Linked DNA regions of Homo sapiens: region 1 is linked to region 2. Evidence: promoter capture Hi-C in 16 types of primary human blood cells and fetal thymus (Javierre and others, 2016). All regions are on one chromosome and are shown on one strand. The core of a region is centred on a gene start or on the middle of the fragment in contact, and the rest is flanking DNA. Distances in the headings are between cores, read along the strand shown. Region 1 overlaps AGO4 (argonaute RISC component 4). Region 2 holds the start of TEKT2 (tektin 2).

Region 1 (6,252 bases), core at 2,743-5,242, 260 kb after region 2:
TTTAAGATGTAGTCTCACTCTGTTGCCCAGGCTAGAGTGCAATCTCGGCTCACTGCAACCTCTGCCTCCCGGGTTCAAGTGATTCTCCTGCCTCAGCCTCCCGAGTACCTGGGATTACAGGCGCCTGCCACCATGCCTGCCACCATGCCCAGCTAATTTTTGTATTTTTAGTAGAGACAGGGTTTCACCATGTTGGCCAGGCTGGTCTTGAACTCCTGACCTCTAGTGATCTGCCTGCCTCGGCCTCCCAAAATGCTGGGATTTAGAGGCGTGAGCCACCACGCCCAGCCCGTTAATCTTCTTTTCTTAACTGCCACAGCCTTACAAAGTAGTGGTGCAGTAAGGGTCATCTATGTGATATTTAAATATATGAGTTATAATCTTTCAGCAAAGATTATATACGTCTATAAGTCTAATTATTCTAACAGGGTTATGTGAAATAATTAAATAATGAAAAGAGCACAGTTCTTGAACAAATGCTACAATTCTCAACAGTGACTTCATAAGGTTTTGGTAACTTTTTTTTTTTTTTTTCTGAGAAAGAAGTCAATGGTATAATACAAATAATACATGAAATACCAATTTACCACTCTTAAGAAATTCATGTAGTGTGTACATGAGGTCATACTGAAGAATTTATTCCAATCAGACTGAAATAATGCACTTTATTTATCCAGAAGCCATCTGAAAATTTCAACTATCTAGACAAAGCCCTCTGGGTGATTTTGATATGCACTAAAGTTTGAAAATTAAGAATCATGAATCTAAAACAAAGTCAGATTAGAATATAAGCAAAAAAAGGTGTGTGTGTGGGGGGGGGGGCTCTGAGTAACCAAAATAATGTAAATGTAGTAAAGTGTATACTGTATATTTAACTCTTTATTTAGAAGAGCCAATATTTATGTTTATGTCAGACATGATCTTGATTACAAGAATAAGATACAGATATAATTTTTAAAGCACTTTCACATATAGTGTCTCACTGAGGCACAGTTTTCAGTAGATTAGAAGTGTTGGGTGATGGGCTGGGCGCAGTGGCTCATGCCTGTAATCCCAGCACTTTGGGAGGCCGAGGCGGGTGGATTGCCTGAGGTCAGGGGTTCAAGATCAGCCTGGCCAACATAGAGGAACCCTGTCTCTACCAAAAATACAAAAAATTAGCTGGGCATGGTGGCAGGTGCCTGTAATCCCAGCTACTTGGGAGGTTGAGGCAGGAGAATCGCTTGAACCGGGGAGGTGGAGGTTGCAGTGAGCAGAGATCACGACATTGCACTCCAACCTGGGCAACAAGAGCTAAACTCTGTCTCAAAAAAAAAAAGAAGTGTTGGGTGATTAGGAAAATGAGATTGGGGAAATGGAAAGGAGTATGCTGCTGGAGGATGCCATAGACACCAACAGCTGTAAGAAGTGACAGCTACCTACAAAGGGAGGGAGAGAAATCCACACAAAACACAAAGCAATAGATGTCTTCTCCCAGCCTGGGCAACAAAGTGGGACCCCATCTCTATTAAAAATACAAAAATTAGCCAGGCATGGTGGCACATGCCTGTAGTCCCAGATACTCAGGAGGCTGAGGTGGGAGGATTGCTTGAGCCCAGGAAGCTGAGGCTGCAGTGGGCCATGACGGTGCCAAGCACTATATATATACGTGTGTCTGTATTTTTTTTAGAAGATACATACATACATATAAAATGTCTTCTCATATATTTTATTTACATGTATGTCTTCTCCTGACAGCCTTATATGATATCTAGGCCTTAATAGACCTTTTGAGCCATGTATTAAGAATTACAACAGTAGGCTGGGTGTGCTGGTTCACACCTGTAGTCCCAGCACTTTGGGAGGCCGAGGCGGGCAAACTGTTTGAGCCCAGGAATTCAAGACCAGACTGGGCAACATAGCAAAACCCCACCTCTACAAAAAAAATTAGGCGAGTGTGGTGGTGCATGCCTGTAATCCCACTACTTGGAAGTCTGAGGTGGGAGGTTCACTTGAGCCCAGAAGGTGACAGAGTGAGACCCTGTCTCCAAAAGAAAAAAAAAAAAAAAAAAAAGAATAACAACAGTATAATAAAAAAAAGCTTATAATGACTCTGCATCATTAAATAAAAAGATTAAATAAAACATAGATTAAATAAAAGTTAATCTATGTTTAACATACTCTACTTAAGAGGTAAATTGAATTAAAGGCAAGGAATGTGTTTTATAAATACCTCTACCAAAAATATTCAGAAAATGTTTTAAAACTTTGGTGTTAAAAGCAAAGATTCTCGTGATCTTGAAAATTTCAGTATAAGATAACCAATTTCTTTCTTTTTTTCTTTTGAGATGGAGTTTCACTCTGTCACCCAGGCTGGAGTACAAGGTGTGATCTTGGCTCACTGCAAACTCTGCCTCCTGGGTTCAAGCGATTCTCCTGCCTCAACCTCCCAAGCAGCTGGGATTACAAGCGCCTGCCACTAAGCCTGGCTAATTTTTGTAGTTTTTAGTAGAGACGGGGTTTCACTATGTTGGCCAGGCTGGTCTCGAACGCCTGACTTCAAGTGATCTGCCTGGCTCGGCCTCCCAAAGTGCTGAGATAACAGGTGTGAGCCACCATGCCTGGCCAAGATAACCAATTTCTTTTTATTTATTAATTTTTTTTGAGACAGGGTCTTGCTCTGTTGCCCAGGCTGGAGTGCAGTGGTGTGACCTCGGCTCACTGTAACCTCCACCTCCCAGGTTCAAACAATTCTCTGCCTCAGCCTCCCGAGTACCTGGTGTTACAGGTACCCGCCACCACGCCCAGCTAGTTTTCTTGTATTTTTAGTAGAGATGGGGTTTCACCATCTTGGCCAGGCTGGTCTTGAACTCCTGACCTCATGATCCACCTACCTCGGCCTCTCAAAGTGCTGGGATTACAGGTGTGAGCCACTGTGCCCGGCCAATAACCAATTTCTTAAAACAATTATAGTAGCTCCCTCTGTTACTAAAAATGTAATTGTATTACTTTAGATGTGGTTAACATACGTTTGATGACTGGCTGGCCGTCTAGTCACATTACAAACTCGGTATTTTCGTTTCATCTGTCCACAGTGGGTCACCTCAACTTTGAGACCTGAAATTTTTTTTAAAAGGCAAAACATCAGTTAATTAAAATCACAGTGGCAAAAACAGATTCAAATGTTGTCTTCAAAATGTCATGACATTGTACAGGATAAAAATTGCAAGAATATGGGGACAATTTCATCGTTATAGGCAAAAAACCTGAGTTAAGCAGAATAAATTAGAACTCAGATTACCTAAGATGCTCAATCTCCTTTAGTTTATTATTTCATCCAATAAATATTTATTAAGCATCAACTATGTTCTGATGCTTATTTTCAGGTCTGGAGACAGCTTTCGTGAAGTTTATATTCTAGTGAGGGAAACTAACTAATAACAAGAAGAAAAGAAATCCCAGAAGGATAATAAATGAATTTATGTTATTTTATTAAAATGGAAGTTCTTAAGTGGGTAAGCATAGCATTTACTGAGTGCCTGATATGTGACAGGTACTATGCTAGAAAGCTTTATAAGCCTAATTGCATTTAATTCTCACAACAACTCTACAAGGTATATATTATTATCTTTACCTTAGAGATGAATACACTAAGGTTCACAGTGGTTAAGGAACTTGACCAAGGTCCCATTGATAGAAGTGGTTAGCCTGAGACCGAAGCCCAGGTCTGTGTGACTCCAGAGCACAGGCAACGTGCAGCATGCTGAGCTGCTTCTCCAAGACTACATTAATGCAAACACTTACCTCTGATTTCTTTGGTAAATTTGACACGCTGGGAGTCTGTTAGAGGTTTGGTCTGTTCATTGATGTTCTGAATGTCTAAAACCTCACACATGAACTCAATGATAGGCTGAGCCCGGTAGAAAGCAGTTGCAGATACTAACAAACAGAGAAGGATACTTCACTTCAGGGAAAAGGGAAGGGCCAAAACAAACAAACAAACAAAAACCAGCCCAAAGAGTTATTGGATAAAGAGAGTTCCATCCTACCATCAATGTTGAGCATCATATTCCACATGGCAGGTCTCACAGACTGATGAAAACCAAACCAGACCTCCCTGCCCCCTCCCAGAGGGTGGTAGTAACCTTCCGGGGGTGAGAAAAAGGAACGGCCCACTGGGGTGTACCTGAAGAAATAAGAGTTTGCATGTGTCACATTAAACATGTGAAAGGTCCTTCATTTCACTCTCAACTCTGGGAGCTGAAATCAAATTTGAACAATGACTTATGCAGAAATTTTTCAATGGCTCCAGTACAACCTACCAAAAAAGTCTGACATTTGTAGGAAATAATCCAAACCAAGGTACTAACCTCATGGAGGGAAGGTGTCTTGTGATAACATCAAGTGCTTGTACTGAGTCATCTGGGACTTCATTCAAGTGCCCAGCCAAAGCTTCTAAAAGCAACTGAAGGCTCACAACTGACACCCACTGAACAGACACTTTAAATGTTTGGTCTTTACCCTCGCCTGGAAGAGTCACCTCCATATCAACCTAAGGAAAAAAATACATGAATACAAACACAAATGTTTACAATGGCTGTGGGAAAGATCCCAAGAATATGCAGTATGATACATGCATAAGGATATTTCTTTTAACTTTTTTTTACAATTGTGTAACATTGGAAACAACTTAGTGTCCATGAGTAGGGGTATAATTTAATATGTAACATTATACAATAGTGAAAAAATAAGGTAGATGTTATAACATGGATGACGCTTGAAAACATTATGCTAAATGAAACAAGCCAGATACAAAAAGACAAATATTTCATGATTCTATTTCTATGAAGTACATTGAATAGTCAAATTTAAAGGGACAGAAAGTAGAATAGTGGTTCTCAGGGACCAGGGACAGTAGGGTATGGGGAATTATTGTTTAATAGGTACAGAGTTTTCGTTTGGAATGATGAAAAAGTTCTGAAAATGGATAGTGATGATGGATGCACAACAATGTGAACATACATAATGCCATTAAACTGTAACATAACATCATAAGTTTTTTTTGAGACAGGGTCCTGCTCTGTCATCCAAGCTGGAGTGCAGTGGTGCAATAATAACTTATTGTAGCCTCAAAGTCCTGGGCTCAAGGGATCCTCCCACTTTAGCCTCCCAAGTAGCTGGAATTACAAGTGCACACCACCATGCCTGGCTAATTAGAAATTTTTTTTTTGTAGAGATGGGTCTCCCTGTGTTGCTCAGGCTGGTCTCAAACTACTGGCCTCAAGCAATTCTCCCACCTCGATCTCCCACAGCACTGGGATTTTTGGCTGGGTGAAGCACTACACCCAGCCAAAAATAGTAAATTTTATGTTATATATTATTTTACAACAATAAAAACTTAAATTTGAAAAAAAATAATAAGGTAGATATAAATGTATAGAAATGGAAAGATCTTTCAGGCATATTGTTAAATGAAAAGCAAATCATAGAGTGACATGCAAAACAATAAGAATACACATCAACATATGTATAAATAGCAGCTAATATACATAACATATCTAAAAAGATACATACCAAACTACTATAGTAGTTTCCTTTGGAAAGGAAAATGGTAGTGAGGGTGCAGATAAGTGGTGGAGGCGGTAAATCACAGCATTTCTAGATTGTCTGGATAAATTTATTATGAGCATATGTTCACACAGTACTTTTCTAATTTAAAAAAAATAAATGTTTAAAAAAGTATTGTGCTATTATAATCTATTTTCATAAGTGAGTATTATATAGTTTTCTATAATTTATAAAACTCTGTTGTTCAGATTCAGGTAGTACTTTGTTAAAGTACATGGTTAATGTGAGAAATTACGTAAAGATGACATAATCAACCTCAATCCTAATGCTCATCTCATTTTCAATTATCAGTTAACTAAGACAAGAGAATATGGACAGAATAACAAATCTATCATCACTATAAAAAACAACTCTCGCTGGGCGTGGTGGCTCATGCCTGTAATCCCAGCACTTTGGGAGGCTGAGATGGTGGATCACCTGGGGTCAGGAGTTTGACACCAGCCTGTCCAACATGGTGAAACCCCATCTGTACTAAAAAAAAAAATAATAATAATAATAAAAATTAAGGCCAGGCGCAGTGGCTCATGCCTGTAATCCCAGCACTTTGGGAGGCTGAGGCGGGTGGATCACCTGAGGTCAGGAGTTCGAGACCAGCCTGGCCAACATATAGTGAAACCCCCATTTCTACTAATAAAATACAACAAT
Region 2 (6,895 bases), core at 553-3,052:
AATGGCCACATCCAGAGGCAGGTTCTTGGCCTGCAGGTTTTGCTCTGCTGACTCCTTCATCTAGAAAAGAGGGCGCGGCCGGGCACGGTGGCTCACATCTGTAATCCCAGCACTTCGGGAGGCCGAGTTGGATGGAACACTTGAGGTCAGGAGTTCGAGAACAGCCTGGCCAAAATGGTGAAACCCCGTCTCTACTAAAAATACAAAAATTAGCTGGGAGTGATGGCGCACGCCTGTAGTCCCAGCTACTTTACTCAGGAGGCTGAGGCAGGAGAATCGCTTGAGCCCAGGAGGCGGAGGTTGCAGTGAGCCACGATCACACCACTGCACTCCAGCCTGGGCAACAGATCCAGATGCTGTCTCAAAAAAAAAAAAAAAAAAAAAAAAAGAAAAGAAAGAAAGAAAAAAAAAGAAAAGAAAAGAGTGGGCGGGGGTGCTGGTGGGGCCATCCATGGGGAAGTAGCGCTTGTCCCCACTTTAGCAGGGGGCCAGTGACTCGGATGGACATGCCACTCATGACCCCCCATCAAGGGCTTCTCAACCTAGCTGTGGGGAAGGAGGGGAGGTTTCGGCAGCAGCCCCCGGGCACCCAGTCCTGGATCCCTGCCTGTGTCAGGGCATCGATCTCGGCATCTAAATCTGTCAGACACTTGTCCAGCATCTCCTTCCACCGGTTGACAGTATCAATCCTCTCCACCAGTCGAGTCCTGTTGTCATGTTCATCCCAAATGGTCTGAGAGAGACAGAGCCAGATAGAGAGGGTGTCAAGGGGTTGGGGGCTATCCCTTTGCCCACCCAGCTGAGTTCCCATCCCCAACCTGGTTGTTGGTCTCGTTGCGGAGCACCCGGGCCTCCTGGCGGATCTGATGGGAAGCATCTCGCTGCAGCTGGGCATTGGTGGATAGCAGGTAGCTGTTAGTGTGCCAGTCGGGCAGCTGGAAGCGCCGACTTGGCTTGACGCTCAGCGTGGCCATGGCACAGAAACCAGAAGGGTCAGAAACCCCTAGGCCTGTTCACAGACACCACCTGCAGAGGGAAAACACTGCTGCGGGAGACCTTTCCGGAGACCTCCTGGATCACACGCCCCCTGCGCAGGACTTGTTCCTGTCCATTTTGCTCTGAGCCCTGTCCTGCTGGAAGCCTGCTTGGAGACAGCCCTTGCTTTACTCAACTTTGTGTGAGGTATTAACTAAGTTTCCCTCCCTCCCGTCCCCAGGCGGACACAAACCCCTGGACCTTGCAGGTCCTGGAGCAGGTAAAAAGGAATAATGGAGTCCCGGAAGCCTCGAAGTGTGTGTGAAGTGCCAAATGCCTGGGGGGTAGGCGGATGGCAGAAAAAAATTGCCCTTAATGCATTTTCCACACCTGCCCCCAGCCAACCATGCCTTGTTGATCTTCCTTTCCTTTCTTCCCCAGGCTGCGGGCCAGTCCCCGTGGGGGATCTAAGGGCAGGAGCCCTGTTCTGTCTCCAGGGACGCGTGCCTGTTGGCACTGGGGAGCTGGGGGGCGGCCCCCGGGGCGGCCCCCTCCCCGTCTGGTAGCCGCCACGCCCTCCCGCCCCTCCGCCCTCGCCTACTGTTGGAGGGGAAGGCCGGACAGGGAGAGCCCCGTGGGAAGAGCTGGGGTCAGTCCGGTTCCCCGTCAAACCCCTTTCTTCCCCTCCGCAGGATGATCGCCTTTGGTTTAGATCAGTACCCCGGTCCAGCGCGGAGGAAGGGGGCGCCCCCGCTTCCCTAGCTCCCTTACCTCCTTTCCCGCTTCGCTCTCCGCGCCCCCCGCTCTGAGCTCCAGTGTTTGGCACCACCGGTTGCTAGGCAACCACCCCTCCCCTACCCCCCCAACCCCCCGCGGCCAACGCGGCCTGGGCGCTTCGCTTGGCAACCGCGGCGGCGTCGGGCGGCGTCCCCGGAGGCCTTTAGGGTAGGCGAGGGGCGGCCGGCCGAGCCTGGGAGAGGTGGGGGGCATCAGGGCAGCGCTTTCACTTGATTTACAAATTAAATGAACATTTGTTGTCTTTTCAGACAGGATCTCGCTCTGTCGCCCAGGCTGGAGTGCTGTGGCTCAGTCTCGGCTCACTGCAGCCTGAACCTCCCCGACTGAAGCGATTCTCCCACTTCAGCCTCCCGAGTTAGCTGGGACCACAGGCGCGTGCCACCACACCTGGCTAAATTAAAAAAAAAATTTTTAGTAGAGACAGGGTTTCACCATTTTGCCCGGGCTGGTCTCAAACTCCTGGCCTCAGGCGATCCACCCATCACAACCTCCCAAAATGCTGGGATTACAGATGTGTCACTGCCCCGGCCTAAACAATTTTATTTTGATAAAGGTATGCATAGACATGATAGAAAATACGAAACCAAGTGCAGTGGCTCACGCTTGTAATCCCAGCTACTCCAGAGACCCAGGCGGGAGGAGCGCTTGAGGCTAGGATTTCGAGGTCAGCCTCAGAAACATAGTAGTTGCCAGCAAACGAACAGTACATAGAAAAAGTAGGCTGGGCGCAGCGACTCAGGCCTGAGATCCCAGCACTCTGGGAGGCCGAGACCAGGTGGATCGCTTGAGTCCAGGAGTTGGAGACCAGCCTGGGCAACATGGCGAAACCCCATCTCTACAAAAAATACAAAATTTGGCCAGGCAAGGTGGCTCACGCCTGTAATACCAACACTTTGGGAGGCTGAGGCAGGTGGATCACCTGAGGTCAAGAGTTGGAGACCAGCCTGGCCAACGTGGTAAAACGCTGTTTCTACTAAAAACACAAAAATTAGCCAGGTGTGGTGGCAGGTGCCTGTAATCCCAGCTACTTGGGAGGCTAAGGCAGGAGAATCACTTGAGCCTGGAGGCAGAGGTTGCAGTGAGCTGAGGTGGTGCCACTGCACTCCAGCCTGGGTGACAGAGTGAGACTCCATCTCAAAAAATAGATTAATTAATTAAAATTAAAATCAGGTGCACTCCCCAGCAGGTCCCCTCCAGCAATGGATGGATAGTTAATGTTGTTTACAACATTTCTTCTATTCTGTCTTGCCCAACAACTTTGCCCATCTTGAAGGTCATACAAGGAATGATAAAGGGATGATAATCATGTTTGGAGAGGGCACAACCCTGAGAGAGGTAACTGGGGTATGAGAAGCAATGCTCTGGTGGCACACGCCTATAATCCCAGCTACTCGGGAGGCTGAGGCAGGAGAATTACTTGACCCTGGGAGGCGGAGGTTGCAGTGAGCTGATAACACGCCTCTGAACTCCAGCCTGGGGAACAGAACGAGACTCTGTCTCAAAAAACAAAATGAAACAAAACAAAACACAAAAAAACCAGAGAAGCAATGCTCAATATTCAACCATTTCTTTAAAAAAAGAAGGGAAAAAAAATCATGTTTGTCTTATTGTCTAGTACTGTATTGTCTGGTATTGCCTAGTATTTCTAGGGGTTGGAAAAATATTAACATTTAATCTTCACAACTAATAGGTGAGGTGGGCATTGTCCCCACTTTCTTAGGTAACAAAAGAGACACACTGCTAAAAAGCAGGGAGGGAAACCCAGGTGTTCTGGCCCCACCCAGAGGACACTCTGCTGTGCTCCACACTGCCTCTCATGGGGGGCTGGGATAGAGAGGAAGACAGGTGTGCAGGCCTGGTCCTGTTCTGAGGACTCTGCTGAACCGGATCCTATGAGGTGGGTACTGTTACCATCTTCACTTTATAGGCAGGGAGACTGAGGCATAGGCCAGTGAGGACGTGCCCAGGTCACATCACTAACAAGTGGTACAGCCTGGATTGAAACCCAGGCAGTTGGGCCCAGGGGGAAAGAAGTCCCAGAAGGGTCCTTCAGTTGTAAAACGTCACTGGGGGGATGGGAAGAACAGTAGAGAAGCAAGGGCTTGGTAGGCAATTGGGGGATGAGGTTGGCTTTTGAGCAGTTTTTGAGCAGTTTGAGGTGTACACAGTGGATCCAGCTGCTGCCTAGCAGGCATTGGGGTTGTTTTTTTTTGTTTTGTTTTATTTGGTTTTTTTTTTTTGACAGAGTCTTACTCTGTTGCCCAGGCTGGAGTGCAGTGGCATGATCTTGGCTCACTGCAACCTCTCCTTCCCGGGTTCAAGTGATTCTCCTGCCTCAGCCTCCCGAATAACTGGGACTACAGGCATGCGCCACCACACCTGGCTAATTTTTATATTTTTAGTAGAGACGGGGTTTCACCATGTTGGCCAGGCTGGTCTCAAACTCAAACTCAGGTGATCTGCCCAGCTTGGCCTCCCAAAGTACTGGGATTACAGGCGTGAGCCACCATGCCCGGCCTGACTTGTTAATTGCAAGTCTGTCGTTCAGCAGGACTGAAGCCAGAACACTAATTCCCAAACTCCCTTCATTACAGAGTATTTTTTTCCACAGGTTATTTTGTAAACTCTAATATATGACTTGTAAACTGGACATGAACAAGAATTTGTGATATAGCCTCTTTACCAGGATTGAAGAAGATAGAAAGAAAAAAATCTTGGACAAATTAATTGCAGGAAGAAATGATCAAATTTTGGCTTACATATTTTGCAACAGTGGTATAACACAAAGAAGTAAGCAAATATGGCAGAAGTGTGGTGGCTTTGGCGTCTACTTTTGACCATAGTGGTGGCCCTGTTATTCGTGGCTCCCGGGGTTCCTACACATCCTTCCCGATGGAAGAAGGGGTTGGCCAAAAAGGTCAGCCAGCTGATGGGTTGGACCAAGAAAGACAGAGTGATAAGAATGAGTGACACCATGTTCTATCATTTTGTATTAGATGCACCAAAAAACTATTCTGTTATTGTGATGCTTACTGCTGCTCTCCACGCGTTCAGTTCATGTGTCATGTGCAAAGGTGCTGCTGAAGAATTTCAGATCTTGGCAAATTCCTATCAACGCCCTGGTGCATTCACCACAAAGGTATTTTTTGCAATGGTGGATTATGATGAAAGCCCTGAGGTCTTTGAAGCGCTCCAGGTAACGTCAGTTCCGAGTTTCTTCCACTTTTCTGCCCAATGGAAATTTACAACAGATGACATTTATAATTTGAGAGGAAGGGATATTGTTGCTGACCAAATGGCTGAATGGGTAGCAGAAAGAACACATGTCAGCGTCAGAATCAGACAGCCTACAAATAAATTATCATGGTCTCCTCAAGCCAGGGATACTTCTGGCTCTCATTGGTGGACTTGGGTATTTCTTGAAATGGAATAGGAAATCTATTTCTTGCAGAATTTTGTGCGAAGTTTTAACTCTGTGCTTTGTGATTGTGATGACGTCTGGTCAAATGTGGACTTATATAAGAGGAGAACCATATGTCCAAAGGGACCCTCACACAGGACATAAACATTATATCAGTAAATTTAGTCAGGCTCAGTTTGCAGCAGAAACATTCATTATTTCCCTGTTTAATATGTGTGTTAGCCTGGGAATGGTGCTGTTAGACAAGGCTGCCACCTCTACGATGAACATCAGAAAGAGAAAGATGATGTGTCTGGCTGGTATGTGTCTTGTTGCCATATTCTTCAGTCGGCTGCTTTCCCTCTTTAGATTTAAAGTACCTGACTATCCATACAGCTTTGTCTGGGATTAAAAAGGATCCTACAGACATAGACAATGAAGCAAGAAATTTGAAAAAAAAAATGTGAAGCAGAAAAATGCAAACTCATAGCTTTTTAAAGTAATTGAGATTTCACCAAAAGAGACCATAAGTGCTTTAAGTGCTTTCAAAATCTGTCAAGTATTATGGTATGTATCTTCTCTGTTCTTAATTTTTCTCCCCGAGTGTTATAGATTACCTCAAGTCCAATTATTAAAATCTTTAGAGAGTACAACTTTCATCGAATCAGAACAATGTTTTACAATGTTTAAAAGTACCTTAGTTAATATTAATATTTGGTCAGCTGATCTTATTCTAATATGAAAAATAATCTTTTTTCTTTTCTTTTTTTTTTTTTTTTTTTTGAGATGGAGTCTCACTCTATTGCCCAGGCTGGAGTGCAGTGGTGCAATCTTGGCTCACTGCAAGCTCCGCCTCCTGGGTTCACGCCATTCTCCTGCCTCAGCCTCCCAAAAAGCGGGGACTACAGGCGCCTGCCACCAGGCCTGGATAATTTTTTTGTATTTTTAGTAGAAATGGGGTTTCACCATGTTAGCCAGGATGGTCTTGATCTCCTGACCTCATGATCCGCCCACCTCGGCCTCCCAAAGTGCTGGGATTACAGGCGTGAGCCACTGCGCCCAGCCAAAAAATAATCTTTTTTCTTTTTCTTTTGAGGCAAGGTCTCCCTCTGTTGCTCAGACTGGAGATCAGTGACACAATCTCAGCTCACTGCAACCTCCGCCTCCTGGGTTCAAGCGATTCTCCTGCCTCAGCCTCTTGAGTAGCCGGGACTACAGGCGTGTGCCACTACGCCCGGCTACCTTTTTGTATTTTTAGTAAGGACGGGGTTTTGCCATGTTGGCCAGGCTGGTCTTGAACTCCTGATCTCAAGTGATCCACCCCTTTGACCTCCCAAAGTGCTGGGATTACAGACATTAGCCACAGTGCCCGGCCGAAAAATAATATCTTGACAAGGTATTCCCACACCTGGCCACTGAAGATAATTATTATCCCTCTATGGCAGTGTACATTTGCAGTCTGTTTTGTGGGCAGTGTACATTTGCAGTTGTATTATCTTGTCCCCTGAAGTTTAAATACCTATGTTTAGAGTACACTTCCAAAGCTCAGAGGCAAATACATACTTCTTAGTACTACTACATATCCGTCTCTCCTATTGGAATACACTAGTATGTTTCTTTTTGTTTTTTTCTTTTACCGTGCTTTTTTTTTTTTTTTTTTTCTTAAGACGGAGTTTCACTCTGTCCCCCAGGCTGGAGTGCAGTGAGTGGCATGATCTCGGC

Evidence for each region. The method cuts DNA at HindIII sites, captures the fragments that hold promoters and counts their contacts. A CHiCAGO score of 5 or more calls a contact.
Region 1: a contact is called between a fragment that was not itself captured here and the fragment with the promoter of TEKT2 in region 2, in 1 of 17 cell types (erythroblasts). The highest score is 5.7, in erythroblasts.

What each region holds. Positions count from the first base shown.
Region 1 is chr1:35,823,592-35,829,843 of GRCh38, reverse strand. It overlaps AGO4 (argonaute RISC component 4), which reads right to left. Exons shown (of 18, transcript NM_017629.4): 4 at 4,350-4,531; 5 at 4,029-4,165; 6 at 3,784-3,918; 7 at 3,009-3,096. Among named protein-coding and RNA genes, the nearest start is that of AGO4, 19 kb to the right of the region's middle. The HindIII fragment of the contact is 883 bases long and covers 3,551-4,433 here.
Region 2 is chr1:36,079,001-36,085,895 of GRCh38, reverse strand. It overlaps TEKT2 (tektin 2), which reads right to left and starts at 1,802. Exons shown (of 10, transcript NM_014466.3): 1 at 1,747-1,802; 2 at 819-1,026; 3 at 608-733; 4 at 1-60. The coding sequence starts at 974. It also overlaps the pseudogene LOC100128093. RefSeq lists an enhancer at 434-1,232. The HindIII fragment of the contact is 20,325 bases long and covers 1-6,895 here.